Linked DNA regions of Homo sapiens: region 1 is linked to region 2. Evidence: promoter capture Hi-C in human tissues and cell types (Jung and others, 2019). All regions are on one chromosome and are shown on one strand. The core of a region is centred on a gene start or on the middle of the fragment in contact, and the rest is flanking DNA. Distances in the headings are between cores, read along the strand shown. Region 1 has its middle 7.5 kb from the start of LINC01690. Region 2 holds the start of OLIG1 (oligodendrocyte transcription factor 1).

Region 1 (5,203 bases), core at 2,525-5,024, 120 kb before region 2:
CATTCTTTTGCATGTGGATATCCTTCGTCCCAACACCATTTGTTAATGTCTGTTTCAGAGGTATGTGAACCAGAGCAACTCCATCTTGAATGGGAGCTGGGTAAAATGAGGCTGAGACCTACTGGGCTGCATTCCTAGATGTTTAACGCATTCTAAGTCACAGGATGAGATAAGAGGTTGGCATAAGATACAGGTCATAAATACCTTGCTGATAAAACAGGTTGTAATAAAGAAGCTGACCCAAACCAAACAGGTTGTAATAAAGAAGCTGACAAAAGTGACCTCTAGTCGTCCTCACTGCTACACTCCCACCAGTGCCATGGCAGTTTGCAAATGCCATGGAAATGTTAGGAAGTTACCCTTATGGTCTAAAAAGGGAAGGCATGAATAATCCACCTCTTGTTCATCATATCATCAAGAAATAACCATAAAAATGGGCAACCAGCAGCCCTTGGAGCTGCTCTGTCTGTGGAGGAGGCATTCTTTATTCCTTTACTTTCTTAATAAACTTGCTTTCACTTTATTCTATGGATTCACCCTGAATTCTTTCTTGCGTGAGATCCAAGAACCCTCTCTTGGGGTCTGGATCAGAACTCCTTTTGGGTAACATCTAGATGACCTCACAGGGGGTGGCATCAGTGTGCTCCCTGCCACCTCTGCTGGACATTAACAGCTAGGACTTACAGAGACTTGAAGCTCCCATTTATTCAGTGTTTTCTACACATTTCTCTACACCAGTCCAGGCCTTGCTTTAATTGTATTAGAAAACATAAAATTGAAAGCAAAACTCCTAAATTTTCGTTTTGCAAAAGAAAATTATTTAAGCTCAAATAATTCCCCATTTGGCATTTAGTTTTGAGATCCTCTAGCCTTTGTTATTATTTATTTATTTTTGTCCCAATGCAGCTGAAATATTTCTCCTTCTCTATCTCTGGGGCCTGTTTAACCAGGTGAAGAGTCCACACAAAGCTACAAAAATCAGTTGAAAATAAAAAAAAATTAGTGGAGAATTAGTTTTCCTTGTCTATCTGATAAATGTCCCTAGACTTGTTTGAGTGGCTTTGCATCAAACAGCAATTAGCATGAAAGGACAGCATGACTGGGTGGTTTGGCTTCCTGCAGACGCAGCTTTGCTCACAAGAGCTTACTGATCCTTGTCACCACCCTCCTCTGGGGCAGGGCCAGGCCAGCTTGTCACGTGGGACTGGTGACATCTTCTCACTTGGCTTTTCCAGTGGAGTCTCTAGAAACAAATATTTTAGAACTTTCATCCGGACTAGGCAGGATTAAGTGAGAATCTCTTTAGCATCTGCCTTTGTTAGAATTAGGTTCATCTGTCTGAAAGCAAGGCCTCAAATAAAAGTGGCTTGAAAATGACCCAAGTTTATTTCTGTCTCATGTGCCCAGGGTTGGTGGGATGGCTCTGCTCCATAGGTCCTGAGGGGCTGCTCTACCTCCTTAGCACAGCTTCTTATAGCACCAGAGGTCCAGCCATCACGTCTGCATTCCAGTCAGCAGGAAGAAAGGAGAGCAAAGAAGGGAATGTCCCTTCCCTTACAGTATGCTTTCTGGAAGTTGTATACCACTTCTACCTTCAGCCTTTGGCTAGGACTTAGTCTCAAGGACACACTTAGCTGGAAGCAATACTGCAAAATGCAGTGTTGTTATTCCACGTGGACCTGTGCCCAGGTATAAACTGGGGCCTCTACTGCAAAGGAAGCAGAACAGAATTGACATTGGGTGGGGCGGGCAGAGGGGGGTTACTGTCTAGACTCTGCCAGAGTCCAAGGGCACTCTGTCCCAAGAGTCAAGGGACCTTTTCCTAATTTCAATTCTGCAAATGATTTGTCAGCCCGGTTGAGGAGCAGGCTAGGACAGCATGCACAGATGCCGTCTTGCTCAACTTAACCCTTCTTCATTTGTGCATTTTCATTTAATACACTTGGATTTGGTACAGAGAAGGGGAATAGGGTTCTAGACACTGAAGGAAATGAAATCCCCACATGGCTCAGAGCGTGGGGATTTTGCTACTTGAAATACCATTGTACCCTCTCCACTTTCAAATGAAGATCCTGACATTGTTTTCCAGAACAATTGCACCGTCCAGACTCAGGGACCCACAAAAGTGTCAATTCACCGCATGTTGGCTTTTTTTTTTTTTTTTTTTTAAACTAATTGTAACAAGTGGTTGCTGTGAAACGCAGGCTTCCGAAGGCTGCCCTTCCAGTGACCCATACCCTGACCTGGACAGACCACCTTCTGTCCAAAAGAGGAAAAGTTTTGTTCTTAGATCAGATGAAACCCTGGCTTACCCCTGGTGACCAGCGGGATTAATCAGACACCAGTAAAACAGCTGACAGAAACACTGAACCAACTCACAATAACCAGCACACACATCAGGCAGCATTCCTCTGCGGGGTCTTACCTCATCCCTTTCTTTTGCCCTGAGATGCAATCCCTGCTTCCTGAGGCCGTGTTCTCTGTGCTTCTTAAAGGGAGCCACTTGCAAGCTAAGAAGCTGCCCATTTTTAGGATCAATATGGTATTCCCCCAAGTTGGTTAGAAAACACAATGGCAGGGACAGAATTTGCAGCAGGGGTTTGTAGAGGATTAGGGCTGCTTCGCCAGGATTTATCGCCCCATGCACAACCCAGACTGAAACCCTGGTCGCAGTCTGGGTGGTTTAGAATGAGCCAACAGGCATTGCCATCAGTTTTAGGCCTTTGAAAAGTAAAATCTTCCCAACGTGCAAAAAGTAACCACTAAAAATGGACCATAACCAGATGCAAAGAAAGAATGAAAGATTGTGAAAGGAAAAAAAAATTCTGAAACTGTATTTGGAAGGTTCCTGCAGAAGGGGTCCTTCTGAAAGTATGCAGCAGGCTTCATAGCTTGCCCAACAGTCATGTACATTTCAGAATGTAACTTTCCAAAGCAAGTTGCTTCTTTGCTTTACTACCTGCAGAGAGCCACCTGCTTCATTTAATCGTGCTTTGGGTTCTGTTTTATTTTTACTGTATCCCATTTTCCAGGGCAAAAAGCAGAAAGCAAATAAAACCACATTTTTGCTACTAACTTAATATGAAATCTATTTTAATTCAGAATGATTTCCCTCCACTTTTATTTTAAAACATGTTTAAGAAGAAAAGCAAGCTTAGAGGATTTCTGGTCCTAAATACAGCGATTTCAAGGATTGTTATCAAAACCCTGAAGGGCAGTGTTAAAGAATGGGATAACCTTGAAATATAGGATGGCTAAGAAGTGAGAGCAAAATATCACTCACTAGTGGCTATTTGTAACCAGAGTTATGCCAGGGAAGGGAGAAAGCAGTGAGAGCCGGCAATATTTGAGACGGAAAGAGATGACAGAGAAAGGTATCTTTAGCGAGGAAAGCATTTAGTGACTTTAAATCAGATGCCAAAAGAATATTTACTGGGGGAAAAATCAATTTTTCTGTGCTGTGGAGGAAGCATTTCAAAGTAAGACAACCTTTATTTCCAAATGCCTTCTGGAGGCCCTCCCCGGAGGACACAACACCAACGCTATTAATCTTGACTTAGTGAATGAACGTATTATACGGATTTCAATCCAGATCTTCAAGTCTTAAAGAGTTCTGAAGAGCCCAGATAAAGCAACCCGTTTTTCCTTTGGTGATTCCTCAGGGGTAACTCACTTTAATTCCCCTTTCATCTCTATGGGAGGACTCGGAACTTTAAAAGCAAACAGGTTTCCTATACTAATTCCTGGAGAGAAGGCTTCTGTTGCTTTCTTGCTGCTGCGAGACTGAAGGTGGGTGACCATCTTCATTTGTTACCTTGGAAGATGTGGAGAACCAGAAGTAAGTTTGAAATAATAGGCCAACGGTAGCTGTCTCCTTTCTTCGAGGAAAGTTATTGCCCTTCCAAATGCCAGTTTGTTTTTTGATTTTCCACGGTCCAGCCCCGTATTTAACACAGAAAGATGCTTTAGAAGCCAGAACACTGATAATAACCCCAAATATACACAAAGACAAAGCAGAGGGCATGCCTGTTTTGTCCCGTCAGACAAATTATGATCTAAATTTTCTGCCAACACCACTTTTTTTCCCCTGATTGTTTATGGCAACAGCAGCCTGTTTATTGAGATTCTAAACTGCAATGAAATTTTCTGGGATTGAAAAAAAGAGAATAAGAGAGTTAGAGAGAGAGAGAAGGCTTATTATGTAGAAGTAAACTGTTTCAAATGGAAACCTGACTCCCATTGTGGAAAGGGAAAGCATTGAGGAAAATTACGCCAGATTATCTAGGCTAAAGGAAAAATTTTATGCCTCACTGTGCCACTTGCAAGGAACAGGAGAGGAAAGAAAACACAGAAACTGTGTGGCAACAAATGACTAAATTGGGACGCAGAGATAGCAGCCTTGCTAGGTTCAGTCCAACTTGTACAAGAATGGTAACAACCTAAGGCAGAGATATACCAACAATTATCTGTTACCCAGGGATTATATTAATAAAACAGCCAGGGAGGGAAATGGCTCCATTTAACTAACTTTTTTTTTTTTTTTTTTTTTTGGGGGGGAGTTGGAGTCTTGTTCTGTTGCCCAGGCTGGAGTGCAGTGGCGCAATCTCGGCTCACTGCAACCTCTGCCTCCTGGGTTGAAGCAATTCTCCTGCCTCAGCCTCCCGGGTAGCTGGGATTACAGGCACCCGCCACTGCACCCGGCTAATTTTTGTATTTTTAGCAGAGATGGGGTTTCACTATCTTGTCCAGGCTGGTCTGGAACTCCTGACCTCATGATCCAACCATCTTGGCCTCCCAAAGTGCTGGGATTACAAGGGTGAGCCAACGCACCCAGCTACTACATTTTGACATAAAGTCCGAAGACGGGACACAGGTCAGCACTTTTCATCCTAAAGGGTTATCAAAAGACATCAACTTGTATAAAAACTGGTGTGAAAATCGAGTGATGTTTTAGTTGATGTCATATGTTTTGTTCTCTCATGTGTCCAGATCCCGGAATAGGCTGAGAAAAATAGAACCTGGAGTGTAAAAAGAAAAAAGAAACATGTTAGTGGATATAGGACATTTTGCAGCTCTCAATTTGATCTGTTCCACAGTCGTCACACAGGATGAGAAGATTGTAGGAATGTGGAAAAAATTAGAATAACCTTGCATTTCGAGTTATGGAAAAGAAACTTTTAAGCTTTTAACATTTCTGTGAGAA
Region 2 (4,888 bases), core at 1,635-4,134:
GGCCCTTGCCAGCTGTCACACTTTGCATGCCGCTGCTTCAGCCCAGCACAAGGGACCATCCAAGTCACCAGCTCCAACCAGTCCCAAATCCCGTGCCCAGGCTGGAGCTGGATGGCCACCCAGAACCCTCTTCTGAGGCCCTCTACCAAGGCACTGAAATATGCAGCATATCCAGTTGACAGTATCCTTGGCTGGGGGAGAGATAAGTCTTACAAGGAGGAGATAAGGTGAGACTTAGGTCTAAAGAAAACCCTCAGGGACACCCACAGGAAAGAGGGGTGCTTCTAGAGGGGAAAGGCAGCATGTGTGTGTTTCCATCTGTTTGACTCCTGGGTGCCCCTTCCTGTGGGTGGGAAATGGGGAGCGTACAAGTTAGGCAACAGGCCAAGGCTTTAGATTTTATCTTCCCCATTCACTTCCTCTTTCTGCTGGCAGGGTAAGACCCTACGGGCCCCACCTAGGCTGTGTGCAGGGGAGGAAGCCGGAGGGGGATGTCACCAGGGCCTGCCCCAATCTGGCACCTCAGCTACAGGACAGAGGGTCCTGACAGTGAGGGTGGGCATTGCCGAAGAGGCTGGAGCAGGGTTTATGGTGGCAGGATTCTGGGGACACTCTCTTGGGGAACATGGCTGGAACCCACCAACTCATCAATATTGGCACAGTCTAGGCTGGCCCCTCCATCCTTACACCCAATCCCCAACCCGCCCCATCATGGCCCCCTCCTGGGCTTCCTGGAAGCCTGGTTCTGCTGGAGGGAATTCAGGAAGCCAGTCCTTGGTGGGGCCGCTCTGCCTGTCCTGTCTGAAGGCACAGAGCAATCTACTGCCTTCTGGGAGCCTCAGTTATATCATGGACATCAAGGGATCAAAAATGCCCAGCTCACAGGGGCCCCATGAGAACCAAACGTGAAAGTGTCTGTAAAAATGACTTGAAAGCAAGCTGCTTCAACAGAAGGCGAAATGATTAGTGAGGTGTTAAACTTAATTGCTTGAAACATTCAAGACCCTTCCCTTGGTCTCTCTCTCTCCTTCCTGCTTAGTATGGTTCTGCTTAAGCACTCAGCTCCTTCCTACCAAGGCTTCCCTCTCTCTCCCAAAGTGGGGCCCCCAGCACCACGTCCATGTCAGGCCAGGCCCCTCTGAGAGGCAGGAGATCTTACCAGGTTCCTTCCCTCTCTATAAAACCTTTAGGAAAATGCTTGGGTTAGAGCATTGCCAGGAGTTTGTGCATTTAAGGGATGAGCCTCTGAGCTAAGGGAGATTTCAGACCATCTTTAGAGACCTCCAGGACACACAGTAAGTGCCAAGCACTGTGCTAGGCTTCAGGAAGATGGAGAAATGAGCAGGTGGTCCCTACCGTAAAACAATCATAGCCAAATGCAGAGATGGTATCTACATAACACAATAGGCTATGAAGAAATCCTATCAATGGTTTGCCAAGAGTCATGAAAGGAGGAAGAGGAGAAATCACCAAGGCTTCCAGAAGAAAGCAAGGTTGGAGCTGAACCTGAGGCATAGGCAGGATGCTACAGGCAGAGCTGGGGGTCAGAAGCAAAGATCAGAGTGAACCCATGTGGCAAATATTGGTGGAAGAAAACCAGAACAAAGCAGCCCTGAAACCAGCAAGCACAGCCACCAAGATGCCCTCTTCCCCAGGACATTGACAAGTTATAGTAGCATGCACTGGTGCTGGGGGCAGAAAATGTCCATAGACACCAAGTAATGCTATTCTATTTGGCAAATAAAATGATTCATTCCCACCCTCAACCGATAGGACTATGTGGGTGTTTTGTTTTGTTTCTAATAAGAGGCCAATTTCTGAGTGACTTTTGCTTAAGCAAATGTCAAGTTGCTGATAGACCATCCCTTTCGGGGAGGATAGAAACCCGACCCAAAGGCTCCTTTGTCCCTAAAGACCTTTCAATCAGAGGGATGGGGAAGGAGGTTGGGAGCAGCAGGGAGGAAATATCCTAATGCTACTTGTCATTTAGTCCAGAAATTTAGCGACCTGAACCTGGCAGGAAATTATGTATTTTAAGAAAAAAAAAACATGATACACTCATGTTCATAGCAGCATAATTCGCAACAACCAAAAGCACCCCAAATGTCCATCAACGAATGAATGGATAAACCAAATGTGGTATATCCATATACTGGAATATTATTCAGCCTTGAAAAGGAAGAAACTTTGATACATGCTACAACATGGATAAACCTTGACGACAATATGCTAAGTGAAAGAAGCCAGTCACTAAAAGACAAGTGCTGTATGATTCTACTTATATGAGGGACCTAGAGTAGAACAAATTCATAGAGACAGAACAGAAGAGTGAATTCCAGGAACTTGGGTCGGGGGGAGTGGGGAGTTGTTTAATGGGTGGAGCTTCAGGGTTGCAAGTTGAAAAGAGTTCTGGAGATGGGTTGCACAACAATGTGAATTTAATTTAAATCAATTTAATGTGCACACTAATGCATATAACATTACTGAACAGTACTCTAAACATAAGACGGTAAATTTTATGTTATGAATATGTGATCACAGTTAAAAAAAAATATGAGGGAGGTTGTTTTTGAGTAGACAGTTGCTGGAGGAAGGCACGTGAGTTGCAGCCTGACCAGTGCGACCAGTCCTCCTTCAACAGCCCCGCTTGCCTTGAAAAGGCGCCCTTACTCCGCTCAGGGGGCCTGTCCCGCGCGGCTGGCACAGGCGCTCACAATAACCTCCTAAAGCGGTGCCAGCCGCACCTCCGCGCGGCCCCGGCACAAGCAGCCAATGAACACGCGGCTGCGCCCGGCCTCGCGCCTCCATTGGCTGCGCCCCGCCACCCGCTGCCCCGCAGGTTCCCAAGCCGGGTTTAAAGGGGTAGGGCGCGGGCCAGGGCCCCACCATCGTTTCCCCGCGCGCAGGTCCGCGGGGAGGGGCGGCCTGCCGACCGGCCCACCCCAGGGCGTTCCTGAAGGGCGTCCTCGGCCGCCCCCACCGCCTCCCAGATGTACTATGCGGTTTCCCAGGCGCGCGTGAACGCGGTCCCCGGGACCATGCTGCGGCCACAGCGGCCCGGAGACTTGCAGCTCGGGGCCTCCCTCTACGAGCTGGTGGGCTACAGGCAGCCGCCCTCCTCCTCCTCCTCCTCCACCTCCTCCACCTCCTCCACTTCCTCCTCCTCCACGACGGCCCCCCTCCTCCCCAAGGCTGCGCGCGAGAAGCCGGAGGCGCCGGCCGAGCCTCCAGGCCCCGGGCCCGGGTCAGGCGCGCACCCGGGCGGCAGCGCCCGGCCGGACGCCAAGGAGGAGCAGCAGCAGCAGCTGCGGCGCAAGATCAACAGCCGCGAGCGGAAGCGCATGCAGGACCTGAACCTGGCCATGGACGCCCTGCGCGAGGTCATCCTGCCCTACTCAGCGGCGCACTGCCAGGGCGCGCCCGGCCGCAAGCTCTCCAAGATAGCCACGCTGCTGCTCGCCCGCAACTACATCCTACTGCTGGGCAGCTCGCTGCAGGAGCTGCGCCGCGCGCTGGGCGAGGGCGCCGGGCCCGCCGCGCCGCGCCTGCTGCTGGCCGGGCTGCCCCTGCTCGCCGCCGCGCCCGGCTCCGTGCTGCTGGCGCCCGGCGCCGTAGGACCCCCCGACGCGCTGCGCCCCGCCAAGTACCTGTCGCTGGCGCTGGACGAGCCGCCGTGCGGCCAGTTCGCTCTCCCCGGCGGCGGCGCAGGCGGCCCCGGCCTCTGCACCTGCGCCGTGTGCAAGTTCCCGCACCTGGTCCCGGCCAGCCTGGGCCTGGCCGCCGTGCAGGCGCAATTCTCCAAGTGAGGGCGGGCCTGGGCCTGGGGCGCGACCTCGGCCCGGCCTCCCTTCGCTCAGCTTCTCCGCGCCCCTGCTCCCTGCGTCTGGGAGAGCGAGGCCGAGCAAGGAAAGCATTTCGAACCTTCCAGTCCAGAGGAAGGGACTGTCGGGCACCCCCTTCCCCGCCCCCACCCCTGGGACGTTAAAGTGACCAGAGCGGATGTTCGATGGCGCCTCGGGGCAGTTTGGGGTTCTGGGTCGGTTCCAGCGGCTTTAGGCAGAAAGTGCTCGCTCTCACCCAGCACATCTCTCTCCTTGTCCCTGGAGTTGCGCGCTTCGCGGGGCCGATGTAGAACTTAGGGCGCCTTGCCGTGGTTGGCGCGCCCCGGGTGCAGCGAGAGGCCATCCCCGAGCGCTACCTCCCCGGAGCGGAGCACGCCGGCTCCCAGTACTAGGGGCTGCGCTCGAGCAGTGGCGGGGGCGGAGGGGTGGTTCTTTTCCTTCTCCTCCGCCAGAGGCCACGGGCGCCCTTGTTCCCGCCGGCCAGGTCCTATCAAAGGAGGCTGCCGGAACTCAAGAGGCAGAAAAAGACCAGTTAGGCGGTGCAGACGGTCTGGGACGTGGCAGACGGACGGACCCTCGGCGGACAGGTGGTCGGCGTCGGGGTGCGGTGGGTAGGGGCGAGGACAACGCAGGGTGCGCTGGGTTGGGACGTGGGTCCACTTTTGTAGACCAGCTGTTTGGAGAGCTGTATTTAAGACTCGCGTATCCAGTGTTTTGTCGCAGAGAGTTTTCGCTCTTAAATCCTGGGGGTTTCTTAGAAAGCAACTTAGAACTCGAGATTCACCTTTCGTTTCCCTTTCCCCAAAAGTAGCGTAACCAACATTTAAGCTTGCTTAAAAACGAAAACCAACCGCCTTGCATCCAGTGTTCCCGATTTACTAAAATAGGTAACCAGGCGTCTCACAGTCGCCGTCCTGTCAAGAGCGCTAATGAACGTTCTCATTAACACGCAGGAGTACCGGGAGCCCTGAACCGCCCGCTGCTCGGCGGATCCCAGCTGCGGTGGCGACGGCGGGAAGGCGCTTTCCGCTGTTCCTCAGCGGGCC

Evidence for each region. The method cuts DNA at HindIII sites, captures the fragments that hold promoters and counts their contacts. A contact is called where the count stands out against the background at its distance.
Region 1: a fragment that was not itself captured here is called in contact with the fragment with the promoter of OLIG1 in region 2 in 2 of the 25 tissues and cell types used here (IMR-90 fibroblasts and dorsolateral prefrontal cortex).

Annotation. Positions count from the first base shown.
Region 1 is chr21:32,948,745-32,953,947 of GRCh38, forward strand. No RefSeq gene overlaps it. Among named protein-coding and RNA genes, the nearest start is that of LINC01690, 7.5 kb to the right of the region's middle. The HindIII fragment of the contact is 5,013 bases long and covers 1,269-5,203 here.
Region 2 is chr21:33,067,257-33,072,144 of GRCh38, forward strand. It overlaps OLIG1 (oligodendrocyte transcription factor 1), which reads left to right and starts at 2,885. Exons shown (of 1, transcript NM_138983.3): 1 at 2,885-4,888. The coding sequence starts at 2,991. The coding sequence ends at 3,806. The HindIII fragment of the contact is 10,124 bases long and covers 1-4,888 here.